Linked DNA regions of Homo sapiens: region 1 is linked to region 2. The links are contacts of gene promoters, found by promoter capture Hi-C in human tissues and cell types (Jung and others, 2019). All regions are on one chromosome and are shown on one strand. The core of a region is centred on a gene start or on the middle of the fragment in contact, and the rest is flanking DNA. Distances in the headings are between cores, read along the strand shown. Region 1 overlaps SRP54 (signal recognition particle 54). Region 2 holds the start of SNX6 (sorting nexin 6).

What was found. The method cuts DNA at HindIII sites, captures the fragments that hold promoters and counts their contacts. A contact is called where the count stands out against the background at its distance.
Region 1: a fragment that was not itself captured here is called in contact with the fragment with the promoter of SNX6 in region 2 in 1 of the 25 tissues and cell types used here (aorta).

What each region holds. Positions count from the first base shown.
Region 1 is chr14:35,006,357-35,010,990 of GRCh38, reverse strand. SRP54 (signal recognition particle 54) reads right to left here. Exons shown (of 16, transcript NM_003136.4): 5 at 3,604-3,708; 6 at 2,298-2,364; 7 at 2,160-2,217. Among named protein-coding and RNA genes, the nearest start is that of SRP54, 26 kb to the right of the region's middle. The HindIII fragment of the contact is 7,325 bases long and covers 1-4,634 here.
Region 2 is chr14:34,627,795-34,632,688 of GRCh38, reverse strand. SNX6 (sorting nexin 6) reads left to right here and starts at 2,541. Exons shown (of 14, transcript NM_152233.4): 1 at 2,541-2,578; 2 at 2,735-2,782. The coding sequence starts at 2,573. RefSeq lists an enhancer at 2,218-2,267 and a silencer at 2,438-2,787. The HindIII fragment of the contact is 20,741 bases long and covers 1-4,894 here.

The sequences.
Region 1 (4,634 bases), core at 20-2,519, 380 kb before region 2:
TCATGCAACTGCACTCCAACTTGGGCAACAGAGCAAGACCATGGCATGTCTCTTTAAAAATTAACACGGGTGAAAAAAGAAAAAATATTTCTGTAACACATAACCTTGAGGTTATACAGCATTCTATCAGATGGCTGTATCATTTATTAAATAACGCCCTACTATTAGACATTTGACGTTTTTCCAATTTTTTTTTTAATTTTTATGTATTTATTTATTTATTTTTGAGACAAAGTTTCACTCTGTTGCCCAGGCTGGAGTGCAGTGGTGCGATCTCGGCTCACTGCCACTTCTGCCTCCTGGGTTCAAGGGATTCTCGTGCCTCAGCCTCCCAAGTGGCTAGGATTACAGGCGCCTGCCACCAGGCCTGGCTAATTTTTGTATTTTCAGTAAAGACGGGGTTTCACCATGTTGGTCAGGATGGTCTCAAACTTCTGACCTCATGATATGCCCGCCTTGGCCTCCCAAAATGCTGGGATCACATGCATGAGCCATCATGCCTGGCCTCCAATTTCTTTTTTAAATTTATTTATTTATTTATTTTGAGGCACAGTTTTGCTCTTGTTGCCCATGGTGGAGTGCAATGATGCCATCTCAGCTCACCGCAACCTCTGCCTCCCGGGTTCAAGCAATTCTCTTGCCTCAGCCTCCTGAGTAGCTGGGATTACAGGCACACGCCACCACGTCCAGTTATTTTGTATTTTTAGTAGAAACGGGCTTTCTCCATGTTGGTCAGGCTGGTCTTGAACTCCCGACCTCAGGTGATCCACCCGCCTAAGCCTCCCAAAGTACGGGGATTACAGGTGTGAGCCACTGTGCCCGGCCTAAAAAAATTTTTTTTTTTAAACGGTGTCTAGCTCTGTCACCCAGGCTGAAGGGTAGTGGCACGATCTCGGCTCAATGCAACCTTCGCCTCCCAGATTCAAGCGATTCTTCTGCCTCAGCCTCCCAAGTAGCTAGGATTACAGGCACCCACTACCACGCCCAGCTAATTTCTGTATTTTTAGTAGAGACAGGGTTTCACTGTGTTGGCCAGGCTGGTCTCGAACTCCTGACCTCATAATCCGCCCGCCTCAGCCTCCCAACGTGGTGCGCCCAGCCTGAAAATTTTTTAAATTTATTTTTTGTAGAGATGAGGTCTTGCTATATTGCCCAGGCTGGTGTCCAACTTCTGGGCTCAAGCAATCCTCCCACCTCAGCCTCCCGAAGTGCTGGGATTACAGATATGAGCCACTGTGCATGGCAGTGTTTCCAATTTCCTGATATTAAAAATACCGCCAATATAATTGGTACATAAATGTTTCTTCTTTGACACTATGTTATGACACCTCTTATAAGCTGAATTTGGAACAAATGGTATGACCATTTAAGGCTTTTTGCTTTTATGAGGCAAATCTCTTCCATAAAAGTTTAATCTCATCCCTATTTCACTACATTTTCACAATCCCCAATACAATCTTTGTCAACTTGAAAATCAAGAAATGAGATATTTTAATTTGCACTCTTCTGATTAGTGGCAACTTTTTATATGCAGATCACTATTATCAAATAAAGACACATAATGTTACAAAAAAAGTTTTTCCCCTAAATTAAGAACCACCACCAAAAACTCAGATAGAAATACACTTAATAAGAACATGTGTGTGGCTGCATACAGTGGCTCAAGCCTGTAATCCCAGCCCTTCGGGAGGCTGAGGTGGGAGGATCATTTGAGCCCAGGAGCTTGGGACCAGCCTGGGCAACAAAGGATATTTTATAAGACAGGGTCTTTACAAAAAGTTTTTAAAAAAATTAGCAGGGCATGGTCAGGCATGGTGGCTCATGCCTGTAATTCCAGCACTTTGGGAGGCTGAGGCAGGTGGATCACCTGAGGTCAGGAGTTCGAGACCAGCCTGGCCAACATGGTAAAACCCTGTCTCTACTAAAAATACAAAAATTTAGATGGGCATGGTGGTGGGCACCTGTAATCCCAGTTACTCAGGAAGCTGAGACAGGAGAATCACTTGAACCCAGGAGGTGGTGGTTGCAGTGAGCCAAGATCGCACCATTGCACCCCAGCCTGGGTGACAGAGGGAGACTCCGTCTCAAAAAAAAAAAAAAAAAAAAGCTGACAGACAAGAAGAGGGATATAAGTGTTAAAATAAAAAACAGTAACCTACCTTCCATAAAATGGAATTCTTGCTTTGGTAGCATTCTGTTTTAGTTGGTCAAAAGCCCCTGGAAGATAAAGAGTTCATGAATCCTCAAACTTGAAAATAAAAATTATATAAAACAATTTTCAAATTTCAAGACATTACCTGCTCTGAATGTGTCTGCACATATTAAACAGGTCTTCCAACCTTTCCTCTGGTAATAATATGCTAGCTGGGTGAGAAAAGATTTAAAAATATAATATCATAAAATATAACAAACTATACATATAATTTTTTCTGTTTTTCCTTATTATTTACCTAAGGAGTAAAATAAAACTGCTTATAATTCTCCTGAAAATATTATTAAAGATTTTTGAATGTGGCAAATTTCCTACAAAGTTTTATATTCTAATTGTCATGCAGTAGCATTCAAATATAAAATGATCAAGTAGCAAATGATCATAGCAAAAAATGTTAACTACTATTAATGTTAATTAAAAACAAACAACAACAAAACGATCTAAAAATCATCCTTTTCTCTTTTTCCCTCTCAAACTGTAACATACGTGAAGCTTGTGGAAAAATCTTGTAATATTGTTGAGACATGCAATTTGGGAGAAAGGAGTGGTAAACTGAATTAAAAATTAGCATAAAGCGGTCAAGGCTACAGTAAGCTATGTTTGCGTGCCACTGCACTCAAGCTTGGGCAATAAAAGTAAGACTCTGTCTAAAAAAATATGGCATAAGGATACACAAAATGAAGATCTATAGTATGCTGGGTGGGAACCTGAAAAAGGAGTCCTGAGCCATAGAGGATAAAGTAAACTCCATGTTCTCTTCTCCAAAAATCACACACTCACTTCCTGAAAGGATAGGAATGGTCTTTTTTTAATAAAAGAAATAGCATAGTTACAGATGTCTACCTTCTTACAAAAAAAAAATCATAAGAAACTATGAGGACCTCTCCTCTTATCCTAAAAAAAACTATTTAAAAACATACATCAAGTAACACAAAATTATAAAGCAACAATATTATAAAGCCTGGCTTTATATCTTAATATGTTATTAATATATTTTAATGTAAATATATTTTAATAAAATCTATTTTATGTAAATATATTTTAATAAAATCTATTTTATGTAAATATATTTTAATAAAATCTATTTTATGTAAATATATTTTAATAAAATCTATTTTATGTAAATATATTTTATTATAATATAAATATATTTTAATAAAATATATTTTATGTAAATATATTTTATTATAATATAAATATATTTTATGTAAATATATTTTATATAAAATAACATTATTTATAATATATAAATGCATTCTAATAATTATAATTAATAAAATATATATTTCAACATTATAAAGCCAGGCTTTACATTTTTATATTAAATACAAAACTTGATTTATACAAACCTATCTTCCATATGACTTCTTTTTAAATTAAGTTCAATTTACCTTTGAACATGTTGTTGTTTTACCACTCCCTTGCAATCCAACAAACATAATCACATTTTGTTTTCCTTTAGTGGGTGTCCATGCCTTAACTCCAGGGTCTACAAGCTAAATACCAAAAATAAATTAAAAATAAAATCAGGTTAACATACATATAAATTCAAAACCCCTTCCCCACAACTTTTTTTTCCTTTTTTGAGACAGGGTCACACTCTTGTCACCCAGGCTGGAGTGCAGTGGCATAATCAGAGCTCACTGCAGCCTCAACCTCCTGGGCTCAAATGATGCTCCCACTTCAGCCTCCCAAGTAACTGGGACTACAGGCACACGCCACCACACCTAGTTAACTAAAAAAATTTTTTTTTGTAGAGACAGGGTCTTGCCATGTTGCCCAGGCTGGTTTCCAACTTCTGGGTTCAAGCAATCCTTCTGTCTCAGCCTCAAAGTGCTGGGATTTCAGGCGTGAGCCACTGTGCTGCCACAACTTTTAAATTATATAAATAAGGACATTTTCATGTAAAAGCTACCATAAGCTATTATAATACAATTATTCCCCTTTGTAAAGACAGAGTAAAATTTAAGAACATAAATTTAAGAAGTCATAATCAAGTCTATACTCCAAACCAATTCAGAGGTAAAGATCTCACAGCATTTTTTAGAACAAGCTGGAGTATAAAATGTGAAACCAAATTTAAGCCACAGGAGGAATCTACATCAGCACTACAGAAATGTAATACAAAAATGTATATGAAGGCTACACATGAATTTTAAAATTTCCAGTACTGACATTTAAAAAGTAAAAACAGGTGATACTAATTTTAGTATCTACCCCAATACATCTAAAAAATTATCATTTTCATATGTAATCTATATAAAAAATTAATGAGATATTTTACATTTCTTTTCCCATACCAAGTCTGAAAACCTGGTGTGTATTTTATATGTAAAACACATCTCAGTTTGGACTAGCCACATTACAAATGCTCAATAACCACATGTGGCTAGTGGATGCCATACTCGAGAGTGCTAATGTC
Region 2 (4,894 bases), core at 1,292-3,791:
CATTTCAGGTGGTTCTCTGTGGCACTTCTCAACCTTTGTCCACAAGGACGCACTTGGCCTTCCTATCAGTTGTATGTAAATCCCTCTCATTTATTGTGGCTCCACTCCTCTCTCTCCACCTAGGAAGAGCTTTGCAGACATTACCTTTAATCTAAAAACAAACCAATAGGAAATAGTGGCACTTTTAGTAGGTAACAAATTACTGGAACATTCCTCCCGACACTTCATCACACTACAATGACACCACATGATGCCTCATGACTCCCAGTGAAAAAGACTACTTTAGTAGTCACCACAATGCGCTGGGAAACAAGAAACAAAAGACAAAAAATAAAGTCCCTTCCCCGCCCCCCATTTCGTAGAGTAACCTTTGTTGGAGCAGTAACTTAACCTCTCTATACTTCAGTTCTCCTTACATACAAAATGAAAGCTACAAGAAGTTCTTATGAAAATATCAGTTAAGTGGTTTTTTTAAATTTTTAATTTTTATTTATTATTTTCTTTTTGAGACGCAGTCTCTGTCACCCAGGCTGGAGTGTGGTGGCATGATCTTGGCTCACTGCAACCTCTGCCTCCCGAGTTCAAGCAATTCTCCTGCCTTGGCCTCCCGAGTAGCTGGGATTACAGGTGCGCACCACCTCACCCAGCTAATTTTTGTATTTTTAGTAGAGATGAGGTTTCACCATGTTGGCCAGGCTCGTCTTGAACTCCTGACCTCAGATGATCTGCCCCCCTTGGCCTCCCAAAGTGCTGGGATTACAGGTGTGAGCCACTGCGTCCGGCCAAAATATCAGTTAAGTTTAATATTGTTTTGAGAGCTTCACTTCAATAAAATAGGATGGAGGGCCTGGCAGAGTAGAGAGGGATTCAAATGTAGAAGGCTTGAAATCGTAGGCTGAGGAATTGAATCGTTATGTAATGGGGGCTTGTAAAGATTACTGAACAGGGTAGTAGCATAATCATCAATATCTGTGTTTTAGGAGGAAAACTGGCAGCAGTGTGTAAAATAGGATAAAGTGATGGAAAATAGTGGAGTCAGGAGAGTATTGCAAAGGTGTAGACGAGAGTTGATGGTAATTGCTGTGAGAACTGGAAAAATTGGACTAATTAAAGAGGTATGGGCTGGGCGCAGTGGCTCACACCTGTAATCCCAGCACTTTGGGAGGTCGAGGCGGGCGGATCATGAGGTCAGGAGATCAAGACCTTCCTGGCTAACATGGTGAAATCCTGTCCTACTAAAAATACAAAAAAATTAGCCGGGTGTGGTGGCACACACCTGTAGTCCCAGCTACTCGGGAGGCTGAGGCAGGAGAATGGCGTGAACCCTGGAGGTGGAGCTTACAGTGAGCCGAGATCGCACCACTGCACTCCAGCCTGGGCGACAGAGCGAGACTCTGTCTCAAAAAAAAAAAAAAAAGAGGTATGAAGGACAATCAATTGTAGAAGCCATAGGATTTGGTTGGATATGAGGAGTAAGGGAGATAAGGATTTATTTCTTTCTTTTTTTGAGACAGAGTCTTGCTCTGTTGCCCAGGCTGGAGTGCAGTGGTGCAATCTCGGCTCACTGCAACCTCTGCCTTCCAGGTTCAAGCGATTCTTTTGCTTCAGCCTCCCAAGTAGCTGAGATTACAGGCACGCGCCACCACGCCCGGCTAATTTTTGTATTTTTAGTAGAGACGGGGTTTCACCATGTTAGCCAGGATGGTCTCAAACTCCTGACCTCAGGTGATCCGCCCGCCTTGGCCTCCCAAAGTGCTGGAATTAGAGACGTGAGCCACAGCGCCCGGCCCCTAGAGTACGGATTTCAATGGGTTAAGGGTTTCTGGTCTGAACATCTGAAGATGCCTTTCCTTAACTGAATGCAAGCTCAGGAACGTGTAGATTCTAGGATTAAGTATGATTTTCTCCCGTTATTTGAAATGCCTGTGGATCCCGTGTGATGCTAACCACCTGGACAGTTAGAGTAGGTGTGGGGAAATTTCTTCTAACAAAGGAAAGGAATATTTTTGTAATGAAAACAGCTCATTTTTATAGTTCGCAACCATTAGTGCCCCAAACTCTGAGGTAGTTATTACCTCGCCAGCGGTAAAAGCTTGATTATAGTCCCTGATTACCGACTGTGTGAAGGTCCTTGTTTCCAGCAACTTCCATAGGCAAAATGATATTAATTGTGATTAATTATCGTGTGGCATAATACAAAGACCAGATGATGTATTATGGCTTCCGGAGGGCGCCTGCATCGTTTTTCGCTGGAGCCCTCGGGGCAGGGGAACTGGAGAGCTCCCTGGGTGGCCTTTGGCCCTTCCCTGGTCAGAGCCCGCCAGCTGCGAGGTGCCCCCAGCCATGAGGTCTGGGTCTTCAGGCTCTCCCGACTTCGGTGCCTTGACCTTGGGCAGAAGGCCCTGTTAACCTTCCTCGCTCACGGACTCGAGCGACCAGCGCCGGGGACGGGGCGGGCCGTCCTTAGGCCCCGCCCCTTCGCCTCCGCCCCGCCCCGCCCCGCTCCTGGCCGCCGGCTCCCTCCGGCAGCAGGGAGATGCGCGCCTGCGCCGGCCCTCGCCTCGGAGCAGCCATGATGGTGGGTGTTCTCCGCGGCGCCGAGTCCCGGGAGCGCGGTGGGGGCAGCGGGCGCGGGGCGGGCGCGGGGACCGCGCCAGCCTGTCACTAATGTCTCCCTTTGTGTCTCCCCCATCTCATCCTTTTCCCCGGCGCGCCGTGCCCGCCGACCCCACAGGAAGGCCTGGACGACGGCCCGGACTTCCTCTCAGAAGAGGACCGCGGAGTAAGTTCTGCCTTCCTTTCGCTCGCGGGACCCTGGACCCTCCTTCCCCATCCTGGGTCCCCGGGTGTGGTACGGGGATGGGTCCCCAGCCGCGCGGCACTCCCTCCCCGTAGTCCTCCTTTCGGTTTCCTCGCTGCACCGCGCCCCACCCTCCCGCAGCCCTTCCTCCCTAGGGGCCGCTCGGCTCCGATTCCCGGGGACCCGCGGCCGCTTTCTTGTCCCCCGCCGCTGTTCGGGCCTTCTGGTGGACCTCCACTCCCACGCGGGGCGGGGTGCAGGTGGCGAAGTGGAAATGGAGGCGGGAGATGGAACGCCCCCACCCTCCCTCGACACTTTGGGGCCATGAAAACCCATTCTCGGACCTTCCCAGCGGCACCCTCAATTTTCACCCGGTGTGGACATCTCGAACTTGCTCCCGCCCACCCTTCTGTCTCTCTCAAATAGTACAGGTGTAGTCTACATTACCATTTTGCAAGGATTTTTATAGTAGCCGAATCAACTCCTGTCCAGTGCCCTACTAGATTATGCAAAGTGCAGGTAGCCCATGGTATCTTTACTTTTTCTAATATCCAACAAATCCTGTCTTTGGCAGGATTTCCTTGGTGTTTTATTCCCCCTTAGCTTCTTTGAGGTATATTGACAAATACTGTTGATAATTGTATATACTTAAGGTATACATTATATTTTAATACACGAATACATTGTGAAATGAGTACCAAAATCAACCTGACATATCCATCACCTCACCTAGTTACCATTTTTTTTTGTGTGAGAACATTTGAGATCTAAGCAAATTTCAAGTATGTACCCTTTGACCAACATCGACGCTCCACCCACTCACCCCCCACATACACACTCCGCCAGGCCTTTGATAACCTCCATTCTGCCCTTGGTGTTCTGAGGTTAGTTGCATTCTACTTCAGAAAGAGCCTTCCGGGCTCTGATTCCTCCCTCCCACCCCACTCTCCACCCCCTTTTTCCTTGGCTGAAGGGTGGTAATCTTTATAGTCCCTTGTACAAGTGAGCACTTGGAAAATGTTGATATATGATAATTACCATTCAGCAAGGTTCCATGGTTCCTTCACATTTCACAGCCTGCACTTCAGTTTTCCCTTTTGCTTTTTCTTATCCGTTTTAATGTGAGAGAGACATCTGTTAGTGCATATTTGGTAGGTGATAAAATATTGTGGGATGTTATTGCTGTTTGTAATAACAGATGAGGTAGTTAGTATGAACTGATGACTTTTATAAAACTTTTATTTATTTATTTGGTTTTATGAGACAGTATCTCCCTTTGTTGCCCAGGCTGGAGTGCAGTGGCATGGTTATAGCTCACTGCAGCCTTGACCTCCTGGGCTTAAGTGATCCTCCCACCTCAGCCTCCCAAGTAGCTGGGACTACTGGCACGGGCCACCATGCCTAGCTGGGTTTTTGTTTGTTGGCTTTTTGAGACGGAGTCTTGCTCTGTCACCCAGACTGGAGTGCAGTAGCGCTATCTTGGCTCACTGCAAGCTCCGCCTCCCGGGTTCACGCCATTCTCCTGCCTCAGCCTCCCGAGTAGCTGGGACTACAGGCGCCCGCCACCACGCCCGGCTAATTTTTTGTATTTTTAGTAGAGACGGGGTTTCATCATGTTAGCCAGGATGGTCTCGATTTCCAGACCTCGTGATCTACCCACCCCGGCCTCCCAAAGTGCTGGGATTATAGGCGTGAGCCACCACGCCCGGCCTGTTTGTTTTTATAGAGACAGGGTCTCACCATGTTGCCCAGGCCAGTGTCAAACTCCTGGGCCTAAGTGATCCTCCTGCGATTATAGGCGTGAGTCACTGTGCCCAGCCGAGCTTTTAAATAGTAAGAAAGATGGAGAAGGTGCTGCATACTTTTATAAATTAATTTCTCAGTGTAAACAAAGGCATTATTTAGAATTTCAGGTTAGAGCAAAAGCATCATATAGAATTACTAGTTGTTGGTAAGATTTTTAGTTTCGGCCAGGCACAATGGCTCACACCTTTAATCCCAGCATTTTGGGAGGCCGAGGCAAGAGGATTGTTTAAGGCAGGAATTCAAGATCAGCCTGGGCAACATAGCAAGACCTCATCTGTACCTAAAAAT